Regions from separate parts of the Homo sapiens genome. Here region 1 is linked to region 2. Evidence: promoter capture Hi-C in human tissues and cell types (Jung and others, 2019). All regions are on one chromosome and are shown on one strand. The core of a region is centred on a gene start or on the middle of the fragment in contact, and the rest is flanking DNA. Distances in the headings are between cores, read along the strand shown.

What was found. The method cuts DNA at HindIII sites, captures the fragments that hold promoters and counts their contacts. A contact is called where the count stands out against the background at its distance.
Region 1: a contact is called between a fragment that was not itself captured here and the fragment with the promoter of ZNF335 in region 2, in 1 of the 25 tissues and cell types used here (spleen).

Annotation. Positions count from the first base shown.
Region 1 is chr20:44,952,146-44,958,677 of GRCh38, forward strand. TOMM34 (translocase of outer mitochondrial membrane 34) reads right to left here. Exons shown (of 7, transcript NM_006809.5): 2 at 4,241-4,340; 3 at 2,923-3,075. It overlaps LOC124904912 (a long non-coding RNA gene), which reads left to right and starts at 3,071. Exons shown (of 2, transcript XR_007067599.1): 1 at 3,071-3,475; 2 at 6,192-6,532. The HindIII fragment of the contact is 7,243 bases long and covers 1-6,532 here.
Region 2 is chr20:45,968,523-45,975,752 of GRCh38, forward strand. It overlaps ZNF335 (zinc finger protein 335), which reads right to left and starts at 3,681. Exons shown (of 28, transcript NM_022095.4): 1 at 3,600-3,681; 2 at 2,688-2,938; 3 at 929-1,169. The coding sequence starts at 2,888. It also overlaps the pseudogene FTLP1. RefSeq lists a silencer at 3,193-3,312 and enhancers at 4,083-4,302, 6,761-7,230. The HindIII fragment of the contact is 24,986 bases long and covers 1-7,230 here.

The DNA of each region.
Region 1 (6,532 bases), core at 2,090-4,589, 1.0 Mb before region 2:
TCCAACACGTGCAATACAGGAACCCATAAACACCATCTCAGATCAGTCCCCATGACATTCCTTGAGCTTGGTCAAACTATGTTACCTTTAAAGTGGTGATCTGTTGCTTGTTAAGGATACTTAAACCATGATCCAAAAAGACTATAGTTTCTCCAAGAAAGAATCATACATTTTGTTTCATATTTTATCAATGAATCAAGTACACAACCATGCAAGCACCTGACATTTGTTTAATGCTCAGGCTTTTTAAAAAATGCAAAGCTTATGTCATTCTCAAATCTTACAACTCCTCAGGGGTTCCCAATTCCCTAGGCTAATGTGGCATGTGAGATCTGGTCCCCACCCCTTCCTGTCCCCCTTCACTGTGAGCCACATTCTCTTCTGATCCTTCTGTTCAAGACTTTGCACATGCTTTTTCCTCTACCCAGAACAACCATTTTCATTTTGGAAAAAGATTGCCACCTTCCAGGCCCGGCTAACTCCAACTTATTCTTTAGATTTCAGCTTAAAATGCCACCCAGAGACCAAGTTCATTCTGTCAACTGATCTCCAGCACCTGGTATGTCACCTAGCAACCACCAAGGCCCAATCAGTTATGTGTTGAATGAGTGAATAATGCTAACTGTATACTTTTTCTGCTCCTACAACCATGTTTCCTATATTACAAGAATAAAAACCACAGACTGTATCACTACAAATTCCAAGATGTCTCTGGCTAGGCTGTTTTCCTGGCGGCCAAGCTATTTCAAACCTCTGCTCTCCTCAAACCTGTTCCCTGGCCCTTCCCCTTTTTTAGAGCAAACTTCCTCATACCCCAAATACAAACCTACCTGCCTGGGTGCCCAATCCTTCCTATTTCTCTCCTGTCACAACAGAAGAGACAATGGGACCAATCCACCCACCTAAGCTCTGGATCCCATCTCCTCTTGCCTCTTTCAGGGACCACACCCAGGCAGCACCTCCCTCTCCCACATCTTCATCCTTCCTCTCTACTAACTCCAACCGTCAGCATTTAAGTCCCTTTAACTCTTTCCTCACCTAATAAAACCATACTGGACACCCCTTGCCATCACAGGTATACTCCCCAGCTTCTCTTCAAGCCTGACTTTCTGAAAGCATTGCCCTCTGGCTCCTGATCCCACTGACCAGCTTCCATCAGAGCCACCGGTGACTTCATTGCCAAACCTTTAATGTAAGCTCCTTGGAACACCTGACACTAATGATGTCTCCATCTTTCTTGAAATACTCCTTCCCTTGGGACATCAATGCCCTGTTTCCTCCCACCTCTCTAGCTGCTGTTCCTCTGTAAGTCCCTCAAATGCTGGAGTTTCTCAAAGCTCCATCCTCTTCACACTAGCTGTGATGTTCTTTTTCTTTCTCACAGCCCTAATCCACCTCTGCGCTGATGACCCTCAAATCCTTATGTCTGGCCTGTATTTTCTTCCTTTGTTCCATGTAAATACCCAACCGTCCTACTTAGATCTCTAGTCTTATGTCCCACAGTCACCTCCGACTGAATGTCAATAATCTGAGTGTCTTCTTCTATTCCTCCCTTCTCGATACCCCGCAACCACTAAAGCTTGTTGATATACTTCCTACATGTCCCCTGACTGGTCCCATTGTTTTCTCTCCACCCTCTCCCCTGGATTGCTGCATGACTCCTTTCTATTCTGTTGCCCTTCATATCATCCCTCAACATGGCAGCAAAGAGCTTTTCTCTAAAATACAAATCTGCTCATGTTGCTCCACTGCTAAAGACCTTTTCATAAAGGCTGACTTGCTCAGGATTAAGTCCAAGCCCTGAACCCTGGGTCTTGTGTGACTTGGCCTCACCAACCTGTCCCAAGCTGAGCTCCTGCCTGCAGCACCATGTGAAACCGACTTCTTACAATTCCTGTGATCTGTCACACTTGCTCACCTTTGCACACGCTGCTCTGTCTTCTGGCTAACCCCCTACCCCATATCTCTCATTCTTAGCTCACCTCCTCTGAAAAGCTCTCTCTGGCCTCCCCCTCTCCCTCTCAGCTAGCTAGGTGGCTCCTTTCTGGCCTCAGAGCCCCCTGTGCTGCCTCCTACCATGGCGCTTATCATGTTGTATTGTGCTTGCCTATTACTGACTGGTGTCTTCCTTGAGACCGGGACCTCTATGACGGCAGGAAGAGGTATGTCTCAGTCATCAGCCCAGGTCCTAGAGCAAAGTCTGTCACATAATTGGTAGATTTTGTGGAATCAGATAAGTTAAAAAGGAGGCAAAGAGAAAACAAAGAATGCTGGCAGACAAGTCAAGCCAGAAATAAAGCACTAAATACATACCATGAAGTCCCTGTTAAGGGTTTGCTATTAGTGCAGTGTTTGGCTTTCTAGCCGCACACGCAGAGGGGAAACATGATCAGTTATACAAATGACAATATCCATGAGATAAAAGCCAATAACTGCTCAGAGACCAGAAAGGAATTGCACCTGGGGAACCTCTTGGATTGGTCACAGTGCAATATACTGAACCATGTCCACAAACCATATCCTTTTAGGCTTGTCATAGCTGCTTGGGCTTGTGTCTTATTCTTCTAATTAGCGTTAGCGCTTTGAAGGTAAGTGGGGTCTGTATCTCTTTCTCATTTTGGTATCCCCCACTGAACCGGGCACAACACCTTAAACAGTGTACAATAAATATTACTGTGTACATAGATACTGTGAGGCACATGTAGGCAAATATCAATCAATCAATCTTAGTAATTGACTCCCTGAAAACCTGCTAAATAAAAAAGCAGATTTTCCTTTCTCAGCTTCCCCTACATGCCCATCGGGAGTTTTTTAAGTGTAGCCAAAGGGATCCCCTCAGAAGACAGACAAGGCAATGGCCCGCAGCCAATCAAGAAGGACAGGGAGTTGCCGTGGAGACCACCTGCTGGGAATGGAGCTCACCTGTTGATGCCTTCTACGGCTGACGTCACATTATCATCAATCTGCAGCACAGTCTTATAGTCAACATAGGCCATAGGGTACTTCTCCAGAGCCTCATAAGCAGATGCTCGCCGCAGCAGGGGCTTAATGCTGAAGGGAACCAAGGCCAGTGCTCTAGAATAGGAGGCAAAAATGTCAACTGGCTGGCTGCTGAGCCACCAGGGTTTCCCTACAGTTTCTTCCAGGCAGGGTTATCTGGAGCACTCAGCGTACAGGAAGTAATTTCTGGCCGAGAGACATGGCTAAAAACGCCAAACCTCAGAACAGGGATTTTTCAACGTAGACTGAAGTGAGGAGGAGAAAGAAGGCAGAGAAACATGAATTTTGTTAAATGTGTGTGCACATGCATCAATTTTCATAGTTTCAGTTCCCCCAAAATCAAGAACAAAAGCCTCATGGCTTTCATGCTACTATGTTTTTTTACAGTTGTGGTCTAGTGGGAATAACAAACAAGCTTTGGAGTCAGATGGGGTGGTGTCTGAATTCCACCTCTGCTGCTAACTATGTGACCCAGGTAAATCACTTTACTGCCCCAACCCTCAGCAACCAAGTTCTGGCCTGGGACACATGGTAACCGTACCCCACAGATTGGTTGTGAACACTCAAAGAGGGAAATCTGGCACAAGGCATGGCACAAATTAATTCAGCACAGGCTCTGTGAGTATGCTCACACCCCTCCTGCTCTCCTGGCTATCACCAGGGCAGGAATCTAAAGCAATGTCAGAGGACATCAGATCTGAGAACACATTTCAGGTAAATGTGAGAGTTTAATGATGATAAAAGAATATTAGACTGGCTTGAAGAAAAAGAGATATGAAACATTGTTCAGTGTCCTCTAAAACTGGTCATTCATGAATACCATTTTTTTCCTTTCTCCTTCTGAGACAATCTATTAACCTCTATTCCTCCTTCTTTCCTTCGCTCCCTTCCCCTCACATACTCCCATCCCAGAAAAGCACCTGGGCAAGCCAGTTACTGGTCTGCCACTCCACCTTATTCCCAGGTTTCAAATTGCACAAAGACTTTACGGCCTGCTTCTAACTGCCCATCCCACTCCTTTTTCGGCAGCAGAGCCAAGACTCCAAAGATGCAAGTCACGGGCCATAAGGACCAAATAAAGACTCCCATTCTCAGTGACCTGGTGAAACTCAGTGACACTTTCTTAATATCTGTCCCAGATGTAATTGATGGGATCCTTCCAAAGAAGAAACAAGCCAGATTAACCCAGCCTCCTCTTCTGAGACCCTCAGGCATCCCAAAATTACCCTTGGCCACTTACGAAGTGCAATCTTTGATGCAGTCTCTGCAGTTTCCATCCTTCAAGTGACATGCTGCTCGGTTGGAGTAGAGAACACTTTCTTCTTCTGGGTCTGAAGAACCTGCCCAGATAGAGTGGGGAAGATGATCAGTTTGGAAAATGGGTGCCTCAGGGCATTAGGATACATTTCAAACTCAGAGCTCTTTGGGCCTTGTGTTAAGGCAGTAGAGATAACTATAACCTGTTCAGGCTTGTTGGTCTGCTGGGCTGGCGTGTTTGTCATTCTTATGTGACAGAAGGACACTGCGCTTTTTGCCATTCAAAGGGAACCAAGTATTTCCTCATTCACTCATTCCAGCACTGAACTTGATAACAGACAAAAGATAAACAAGAAATAGCTAGCTTCTGCCTCAAAGAAATCCATGCTGTAACTACTTGGGTTTGGGTGGATAAATGGATGGATAGGTGTGTATTTTATTACAAAAAGCATTTAAATCCAAGAAAGAAAGAAAAAAAAAAAAAGAAAAGAAAGGGAGGGAGGGAGGGAACAAGATGATAAACGTATGATAAATGGATTGACCAAAAGTTGTAGGGGCACAAAACACCCATGAAAGACATGAGACTAGTTTTACCTGGTCAAGCCAGGGAGGACTTTGTCAGGGAAATGATAATTGAGCTGGGTGTGATGGGAGTACAGAGAACTTAATCAGGAAAAAGTCTTAAGCTACCCCATGGGGAGAATTATTAGACATTCTTCTAAGGCAGTCCTTACCCTCAGGAATCGCAGAGGCTCAAGTCCTTCACTGTGGCCACCATGATCTTTATTTACGTATTTTTTTTTGAGACAGAGTCCTGCTCTGTTGCCCAGCCTGGAGTGCAGTGGAGCGATCTCCGCTCACTGCAACTCCACCTCCTGGGTTCAAGCAATTCTCCTGCCTCAGCCTCAGCCTCCTGAGTAGCTGGGATTACAGGCACTCGCCACCACGCCTGGTAGAGACAGGGTTTCACTATGTTGGCCAAGCTGGTCTTGAACTCCTGACCTCAGGCAATCCGCCTGCCTCGGCCTCCCAAAGTACTGGGATTACAGACGTGAGCCACCGTGCCCAACCAACAATGATCTTTATTTTTAAAGATAATTTTCAACCACTTCATACCCACTAGTGTCGGCCATTATTTTAAAAAGAATTGAAAACAGGGTCTCTTTTTGAAAATTTTGAAACATACAGAAGACCATTATCTCAGAATCCACCACTAGATTTAGCACGTTATATTAGTTCCCAACTTTTTTAATTTTTAGAGACAGCGTCTCCCTCTGTTGCCCAGGCTGAAGTGTAGTAGCACAATCATAGCTCACTGCAGCCTCAAACTCTTGGGCTCAAGTGATCTTCCCAGCTCAGCCTACCAAGCAGATAGGACTACAGGTGTGTACCCCCAAGCCCAGTTAATTTTTAAAGTTTTTGTAGAGACAGAGTCCCACTGTGTTGCCCAGGTTGGTCTTGAATGCCTAGCCTCAAGTGATCCTCCCGCTTTGGCCTCCCAAAGTGTTGGGATTATAGGCATGAGCTATGGCACCCAACCCTTAAAAATTTTTTTGATAAGCTAAAACTCCAGCCATCCCCATCCTTATCCCTGTGCTCCCTCCCCAGACTCACAGAGGCCAGTACAATCCTGAAGTTGGTATGTAACATTTTCAAGCATGTTCTACATTTACATATATATGTATATATGTATATGTATATATGTATACATGTACATGTATATATATGTATATGTATATATATGTGTGTGTGTGTGTGTGTGTTAACAGGAAAGATACCATTTTATGTCTATTAAAGCATTTCCTAAGAGGCATCATATTGCCTATCCTTCTGCAACTTACTTTTTTCACTCAGTATCCTGTTGCCATGTTGATATTTGATATCTTTCATTCAATACCAACAATAACAAGCGTTTTCCCCTCTTGTTTTGCCAGGCCCAGAGACGGAAAGTACAAAGACTAGTAAAATACATCCTTGCCCTTAAGGAGCTAAGTACCCAAAACCTGTAATCCATCTTGAGTCACCAGAGTACGGTTGCTCAGAAACAGCAGTGGTGCGGTGGAAAGGGCATCAACCCTGCGATCCGGACAAGTCACTCCATCCCTCTGATCATGCGTGCCCACCTACCACATGAGGATATCACTTCATAGACTTGCTGGAAGGGTTCATTGTGTTAGCCTGTTCCCTGAGCTCTCTTCGTGATCAAGAAGACTGATCAGATAAATCAAGAGACTTGCCCAAAATTACCTAGGAAATCTGTAGCAGCAGCAGAACC
Region 2 (7,230 bases), core at 2,431-4,930:
TGACTCCCCTGGCAGGGCTGTCTGGAGGTCTAGTGTGACATGCTGACTCAGCAGCCGGCCCACACTTACACAAGATGCCACAGCTACACCAGCTGCCCAGGCTTTGACCACCAAACCTGGGAAGTCCTCCTTCCTCTCCAAACTTCTCAAAGTAAAGGACCAGCTCCTGCACCACTTTCTTAGGGTTGGCTTCCCAGACTATCCCAGGGCTTTTTGAGGTGCTATAGCCTCTATAAATATCATTAACAAAAAGTGGGTACAGCACCATGTGTCACGGCTCATGCCTGTAATCCCAATACTTTGGGAGGATGAGGCAGGAGAACTGCTTGAACTCATGAGTTCAAGAATAGCCTGGTCAACCCAGCAAAAAGGTGGTGTGCACCTGTAATCCCAGCTACCCTGGAGGCTGAGGCAGAGAATCCCTTGAGCCCAAGAGTCTGAGGTTACAGTGCACTATGATTGCACCACTGCACTCCAGCCTGGGTGACACAGCTCTGGAGTCAGACTGTCTGAGCTCATGGCCCGACACCCCACACTGCTTGCTGGTGACAGTGGGTAAGTTATGTATGTCCTTGGTGCCTCATATTTTTCATCTGGACTGTGAACATTAACATCCTCTACCTTTTGGGGTTATTGGGAGGATTAAATGAGCTACTGTATGTAAAGTTTAGAACAGTCCTGGGCACAAGGTAAGCAATAACAGTTTATATTATTTATTGAGAGTCTGTCATGCCAGGCGCTAGGCTGAGAACTTTACAGTGTTGTCTCATTAAATCCTCATTTACCACCATGAGACAGGGGTGACTGTTCCCACTCTGCACATTCCACATGGGAAAGTAATCTGCCTGAGTTCACACAGCTAGGGTGGGCACAGCTGGCTGCCGGACACTGCAGGAAAACCCCTGTGGGGCTCCTCTGCCTGACTCACTCTGGATGAGGTCGGGCCCGATGGTGGACTCGATGATCTTGTCGATGGCCGAGCCCAGGTCCGAGGAGGAAGCTGTGCAGTCGGACACCAGCATGTTGGGGTCTGGGAGTGCACTAGAGTGCACAAGTGCTGGGGGACCGCCTGTCACCCCTGCCACTGGCCCATGAGACACAGACGATGAATCAGGGAGGTAGCTATTAGGCAGGGGGTCTGCGCTCGAGCTGCTCTCAGATACCTCCTCCTGAGGGGCATGAAACAGGGAGGGAAAAAGTTTAGCAGCTGGGTATGGGGCAGGGCAGCCTGCCAGCTCCCACTTGCTAGACAGAGCTCTCAGGCCCAAGGACATGGTCAGTGGAGCCACTCATGCCCTCAGCCCCACGGAGGACCAGTGAGAGAGGCCCTCCAGTCACAGAGTCCCCCAGGAAAAAGTCACAGGGTCCCTGGATCTCATCAGGGAATACACAAAAATAAGAGAAGGGACTCCTAAGCCACAGCCAGGGGGAGCTATTTTCTTTGGGCTTTTGCATAAATCGTTCCCTCTGCCTGAAACTCTTCCCAGCATCACCCTATGGCTAAATCTTACCCAGCCTTCTCACCACCATTTAGCTGGTACCTCTTCTAGGAAGTCAATGCTGGCTTTGAGGCCAAGTCAGGACTTCTTCATCCTCAGTGCTGCAGCTGCCTGTGTCCCCAGCACCACACCACTGTGGGGTTCATTGTGCCTTTTAACAGCCTCCATGCCAGACTGTGCCCTCCACAAGGGCCTGGACCAAACTTGTCTTTTCCTCTGCTGTATTTCCAGGGCCCAGCACACGCTGAGCACATGGTAGGCCCCCATCTCTGCTGAACTAATGAAACCCCAGGACCCCAAAGTGATGACCACTGCTGTGTACTTCTATCACGTGATATACTGAATATGACCATTATCTTGCATATAAGAATGGCTAATACTTACTGAGTGCTTACAATGTGCTGAGCACTGTTTTAATTATTAGCTTTGCATATGTTAATTCATTTCATCCTCACAAAAACTCTATGAGGCAGGTATATTTACCATTCCCACTTTACAGACGAGGAAACAGAGCTAGATGTTGGGTAGCTTGCTCAAGATCACACGGCTAGGAAGTGGCACAGCCAGGAGGAGATGGTTTACAAAATGTTTGCAAGAGGATGTCTGGTGGGAGCTCACAATCAAGCACCCTTGAAAGCAAGTATTTCTGCTTTACTTTAGCCGGGATACTGAGGCTCAAAGAGGTCTCCCAGTAAACTGGAGGCAGGACCCAGTCTTAACCCAGGGCACTTGCGTTTTTTTTTTTTTTTTTGTAGAGATGAGGTCTCGCTATTTGCCCAAGCTGGTCTCCAACTCCTGGGCTCAAGTGATCCTCCCACCTCAGCCTTCCAAAGTGCTGGGATTACAGGCGATGAGCTACCACTCCTGGCCTAGACATCTGCCTCTCAAAGTGTGAGGACTGTGGGTAGTATAGTAGCTAAGACCACAGCCTAGATTTGAATCCTGGCTCTGTCTGCACTCTGTACCTCGGCATCCTTTTCTATAAGATGTGGGAAAAAATGGTATGTGTCTTAGAAGGTATGAAGCTCAAATGAGAAAATCCATTTTAGGGGTTTGGCTTGGTGCCTGGCTCACAGTAAACCAGAAACACCAAGTATTAGCTACAAACAAGCCTTGTTTCCTCTTGGCTGTCAGGCACTGCTGCTCGCGGTCCTTGCCTCCACCCACGCCGTCCAGCCGGGTCCATACCTGAGAACGGCTGCCGCGGTCCGAGCTTTGCCCCACGCCAGAGTCATCGGCCTCTGCCTGCCCCGGGGCGGCCGCGGCGTCGCTGCTGTCGGCGGACACGGCTTCTGAGGTGCCCACACCCAGGCCGCTCTCAGAGGGCTCCTCGGGCCGGCCAGGCCCAGGGGCCGCGTCGCTGCTGCTCTCCACCTCGTTCTCCTCCATCTGATCGGCGGGCTGCCTGACAGCGGGGCGTAGGGTCTGGGAACTTCACTCTGAGAAGAGAGGTGACCGTGGCTGGAACAAGTGGGCCATCTCCCCAGCCCCGGCAACCACGGCCACCCATTTGCACCCCTGCGCCCATTTTGCAGATGCGAAGATTGAGTCTCCGACGGGGCGGAGCTTCCTGGTGTATTGCGAGGGGAGCTCGGGAAAAACTTGACGGAGAAGCTGTGCTTCCCAGGCTAAGGCCCTTCCCGGGAGGGTGGTCAATGGCTGGTAATCTTGACCCTTTCCCTCGCCCCCACGATTCTCGTGGAGCGTTCCGCTCTGTGAGCCCCATCCGGGCCCAGTGGTTCAGCCCTTCGGCCCCCGCGTCCCCCCGGGTTGCAGGGCCGGTGGTACAGCCCGCTGGCCCCCTGGGTCAGTGGTTCGCTCCCCCCCGGTTCCCCTGCGGAGGCGGCTGACAGCGACGGTCTCGGGGCCTGGCGATTTGGGGCTGTCCCCGGCGCTGCCTGTGCTCCAGGCCCGACGCCATCTTGTGGTGGCGCCGGGTTTCCGCTCAGGCAAGTGCGAGAGCGACTAAAGGGCCTGGGACCCCGGGGCCCTGTTCGGACAGCCCCGCCGGCCTGGGACCTCGCCTCCGGGTATCCCCGCAGTGTGACCTCACTCCACGGCAGGGTACGGTGGGGCCGCCTAACTCTACCCGAAGCTCACCCGAGGCTTTCGTAGCCACGTTCCTCTCTGACTCCGGCATCGACGAGGTCGCCATCCTCTTTCCTCCGCTGCGGAGGAACCCATCGGCCTATTGTAGGCCGGAACTACTTCCCCCGCTGGCCCCGGGAAAGACACATTTTCAGTGTTCCGGAAGGTCGCTCCGAGGCCTCAAAACCATAATCGGGTCTCAACAGACTCTGGGACTTTATACGTCGCCCGGTGTTTGGCACTGAGCCCACTATGGTTTGGGGACTACTTTATCTCGGCGGAGTGTTACGTAGGAAGTGGTTGTGACGTCATTCTGGTCCCTTCCCTAGGCCGCAGGGTTGGGCGCGGCGAATGCGCGCCCCGCTCTCTTGGGGCGTGGCTCCCAGTGGGGGGCGTGGCTCCCGGTGGCTTGGCCGCGCCCCTCCTACAACAGCCCGGAAGAGCGTGTGGCCGCGGGCGACTTTGGCTTGGCCAAAGAGGAATTCATGTTGTCAGTCATTTTACCTGACTCATTACTTATTACTTAGCGCGCTGCTGCAACCCAATCGAGCTCTGCCCGTTAGGTTTGATGTGTTTTGTTGGGAAGGGAATGTATAATTATTGTACAGATAGGGAAACTGAGGTCTGGGTATGGGAAGGGCTGGTCCAAAATCACATCCAATAAAGGGACTCAGGAGCTAAGTACGGATGGCAGGAGTCGGGGAAATGGAAAGAAGTTAATGCTTGTCCCTTAGGTTTGTATACATATTTGTTAACATTAATAGAGCTGAGGCCGGGCGCTGTGAGTCACGCCTGTAATTCCAACACTTTGGGACGCCAAGGCAGGAGAATCGCTTGATCCCAGGAGTTCCAAACCAGCCTGGGCAAAAGAGCGAGACCCCATCTCTACAAAAAAAAGAAAAAAAAGAAAAATTAGCCAGGCATGGTGGCGCGTGCCTATAATCCCAGTTGCTCGGGAGGCTGAGGTGGGAGGATCGCTTGAGTCTGGGAGGTTGAGGCTGCAGCGAACCGTGATCACACCACTGCACTTCAGCCTGGGCGACAGAGCGAGACCCTCTTTCAAAAAATAAATAAATACAAGTCAACTACCTATCCTTTAAAAGTGGAGAAAGAAAAAAAATTTTAATTAAAAGTCAGCTGCCCTTAAGGTATGTCCTTCCTCCGGAAATGTCACCTTCTGTTTTAAGACTTTTAGCAGTTTGCAGTGGAAGAGCACAAGAGGGAGTAAGGCGCTCTGGTTTTTGTCCCTAAGTCTCTGTAGTTCCATAGGCTATTTTCCTTAATTGAAAGATACAAATTTTGGGGGAAAAAAATCTCAAAAAAACTCCTAAGCAGGCTGGGCGCGGTGGCTCACGCCTGTAATCTCAGCACTTTGGGAAGCTGAGTCGGGCGGATCACCTGAGGTTGGGAGTTTGAGACCAGCCTGATCAACATGGAGAAACCCCATCTGTACGAAAAATACAAAAGCAGCTGGGCGTGGTGGCGCATGCCGTAATCCCAGCTATTCAGGAGGCTGAGCCAGGACAATAGCTTGAACCCGGGAGGCAGAGGTTGCGGTGAGCCGAGATCACGCCATTGCCTTCCAGCCTGGGGAACAACAGCGGAAACTCTTGTCTCAAACAAACAAACAAAAAGTCCTAAGGAGAAGACCTATTAATAAGGAGAAAAGGTCCGGGCTCGGTGGGTCACACCTGTAATAACCAGCACTTTGGGAGGCTGAGGCCGGTGGATCACTTGAGGTCAGGAGTTCGAGACCAGCCTGGCCAACATGGTGAAACTGTCTCTACTAAAAATACAAAATTTCACTGGGTGTGGTGGCGCGCGCCTGTAGTCCCAGCTACTCGAGAGGCTGAGGCAGGAGAATCGCTTGAAGCCCAGAGGCGGAGGTTGCCGAGATTGTGCCATTGCGACAAGAGAGAAACTCCGCTTCAAAAAATAAATAAATAAATAAAAATAAAAAGGACAAAGGGTGCTTTGAGCTGTTATTTGTGTGCACTTGTGTATGAGGGGATTCATCTGGTCCTTTTCTTAGGTAAAGTTTTCTTTCCTAGGTTTCCCTTTTGGGTTGAGGGAATGGAACAGGAGGCCTCTGGATAGGTTAGGACCCTCATCCCCTATCCCTTGCAACCAGCAGGACCAGGCCCCAGAGCAGCTCTGAAGAGCTAGGTCAGCACTGGCATGATGACATGTTGGTTTTACTATCTCCAGGCAGTTTTCCCGTGTGGACCCCATTCCTCAGCCCTACAGAAGCATCTGCCCCCTCATGCCAGTAGGGTAGTAGGGTGCATCCTACATCTGACCAAGTCACCTCTCCCAAGTTTGGGGTACTCCGAAGTAGCCCCACAGTACCCTCATTCCCTTCCCCACTAAGACTGAAGCCTCCTAGGAGGTAGAGTCTGCAGTGAACTATGAGTGCGCCACTGCACTCTGGCTTTGGTGAGAGAGTGAGACCCTGTCTATTAAAAAGAAAAAAAAAAGACTCAACCTTAATCCTGGCCTTTGCCACAGCATCACAAGATTGCAGAATGTCATGGTACAGATGAAACAGACTCATCATGAAACCGAAGAGGAGCCCAAGGCCCAGAGGGGGAAAGCTAACAGCCCAAGGTCTCGGCTCCTTGGAAACAACATACCAGAACCCTTCCATCACAAAGACAAGCAGGCAAATCCTTGTATTCTGCCTGTGAATCCAGGGTTTGTTCCTCCAGAGAGTGCAGTCTAGTTCTGGTCTCAGCTTTATTTTTTTGTTTTCTCTTTAAAATTTGTTTTATCTTTTAAAAAATTGTTTATAAAGATGGGGACTAGCTATTTTGCCCAGGCTGGTCTCGAACTCCATGGCCCCAGCTTAGAGAGACTTATGGAAGCAGTGAAGGGGCTCTGGGTCAGAGGACATTAAAGTGGACCATTGAGAAAAATGTAGAAGAGCCAAGAGGGAAAGAGGAGGGAAGATGCCAGGCAGTGTGTGTGCTTTCTGAGTCATGTTTTGTTTTTTTTTTTAATTTGCTTCCACAGAGCTTTATTTCCATTTGGATCAAGGCTTGGAAGAAGGCTCCAGGGTAATTAAAAAGCTGCCTAGTGGCTGGAGGGAGAGGCTTAGGCAGAAGCCCTGATACTTTGGGAGGGGCCCTTAAGGCTCCCAGTCGTGCTTGAGGGTGGGTGAGCCTTTCCAAGAGAACCCCACCCAGGCCAGCCTGGGGGCCAGCCACCCTGGGAAGGTTGGTCAAGTGGTCGCCCATCTTGATGAGTTTCACTTCCTCATCTAAGAAGTGACTCTCTAGGAAGTCACAGAGATGGAGGTCTGTGCGGGCAGGACTCAGGGCTTGAAGATCCAAAAGCGGCCTGGTTCAGATTTTTCTCCAGGGCCATGGCGGCTTCCGTGGCATTCAGGGTTTTTAAAATTTATTTATTTATTATTATTTTTTTTTTGTCACCCAGGCTGGAGTGCAGTGGTGTGATCTCAGCTCACTGCAACATCTGCCTCCCAGGTTCAAGCGATCCACCTCAGCCTCCTTAGTAGCTGGGACTACAGGCGTGTGCCACCACACCTGGCTAATTTTTTTTGTATTTTTAGTAGAGATACAATTTCACCACGTTGGCCAGACTGGTCTTGAACTCCTGACCTCAACTGACCCACCTGCCTTGG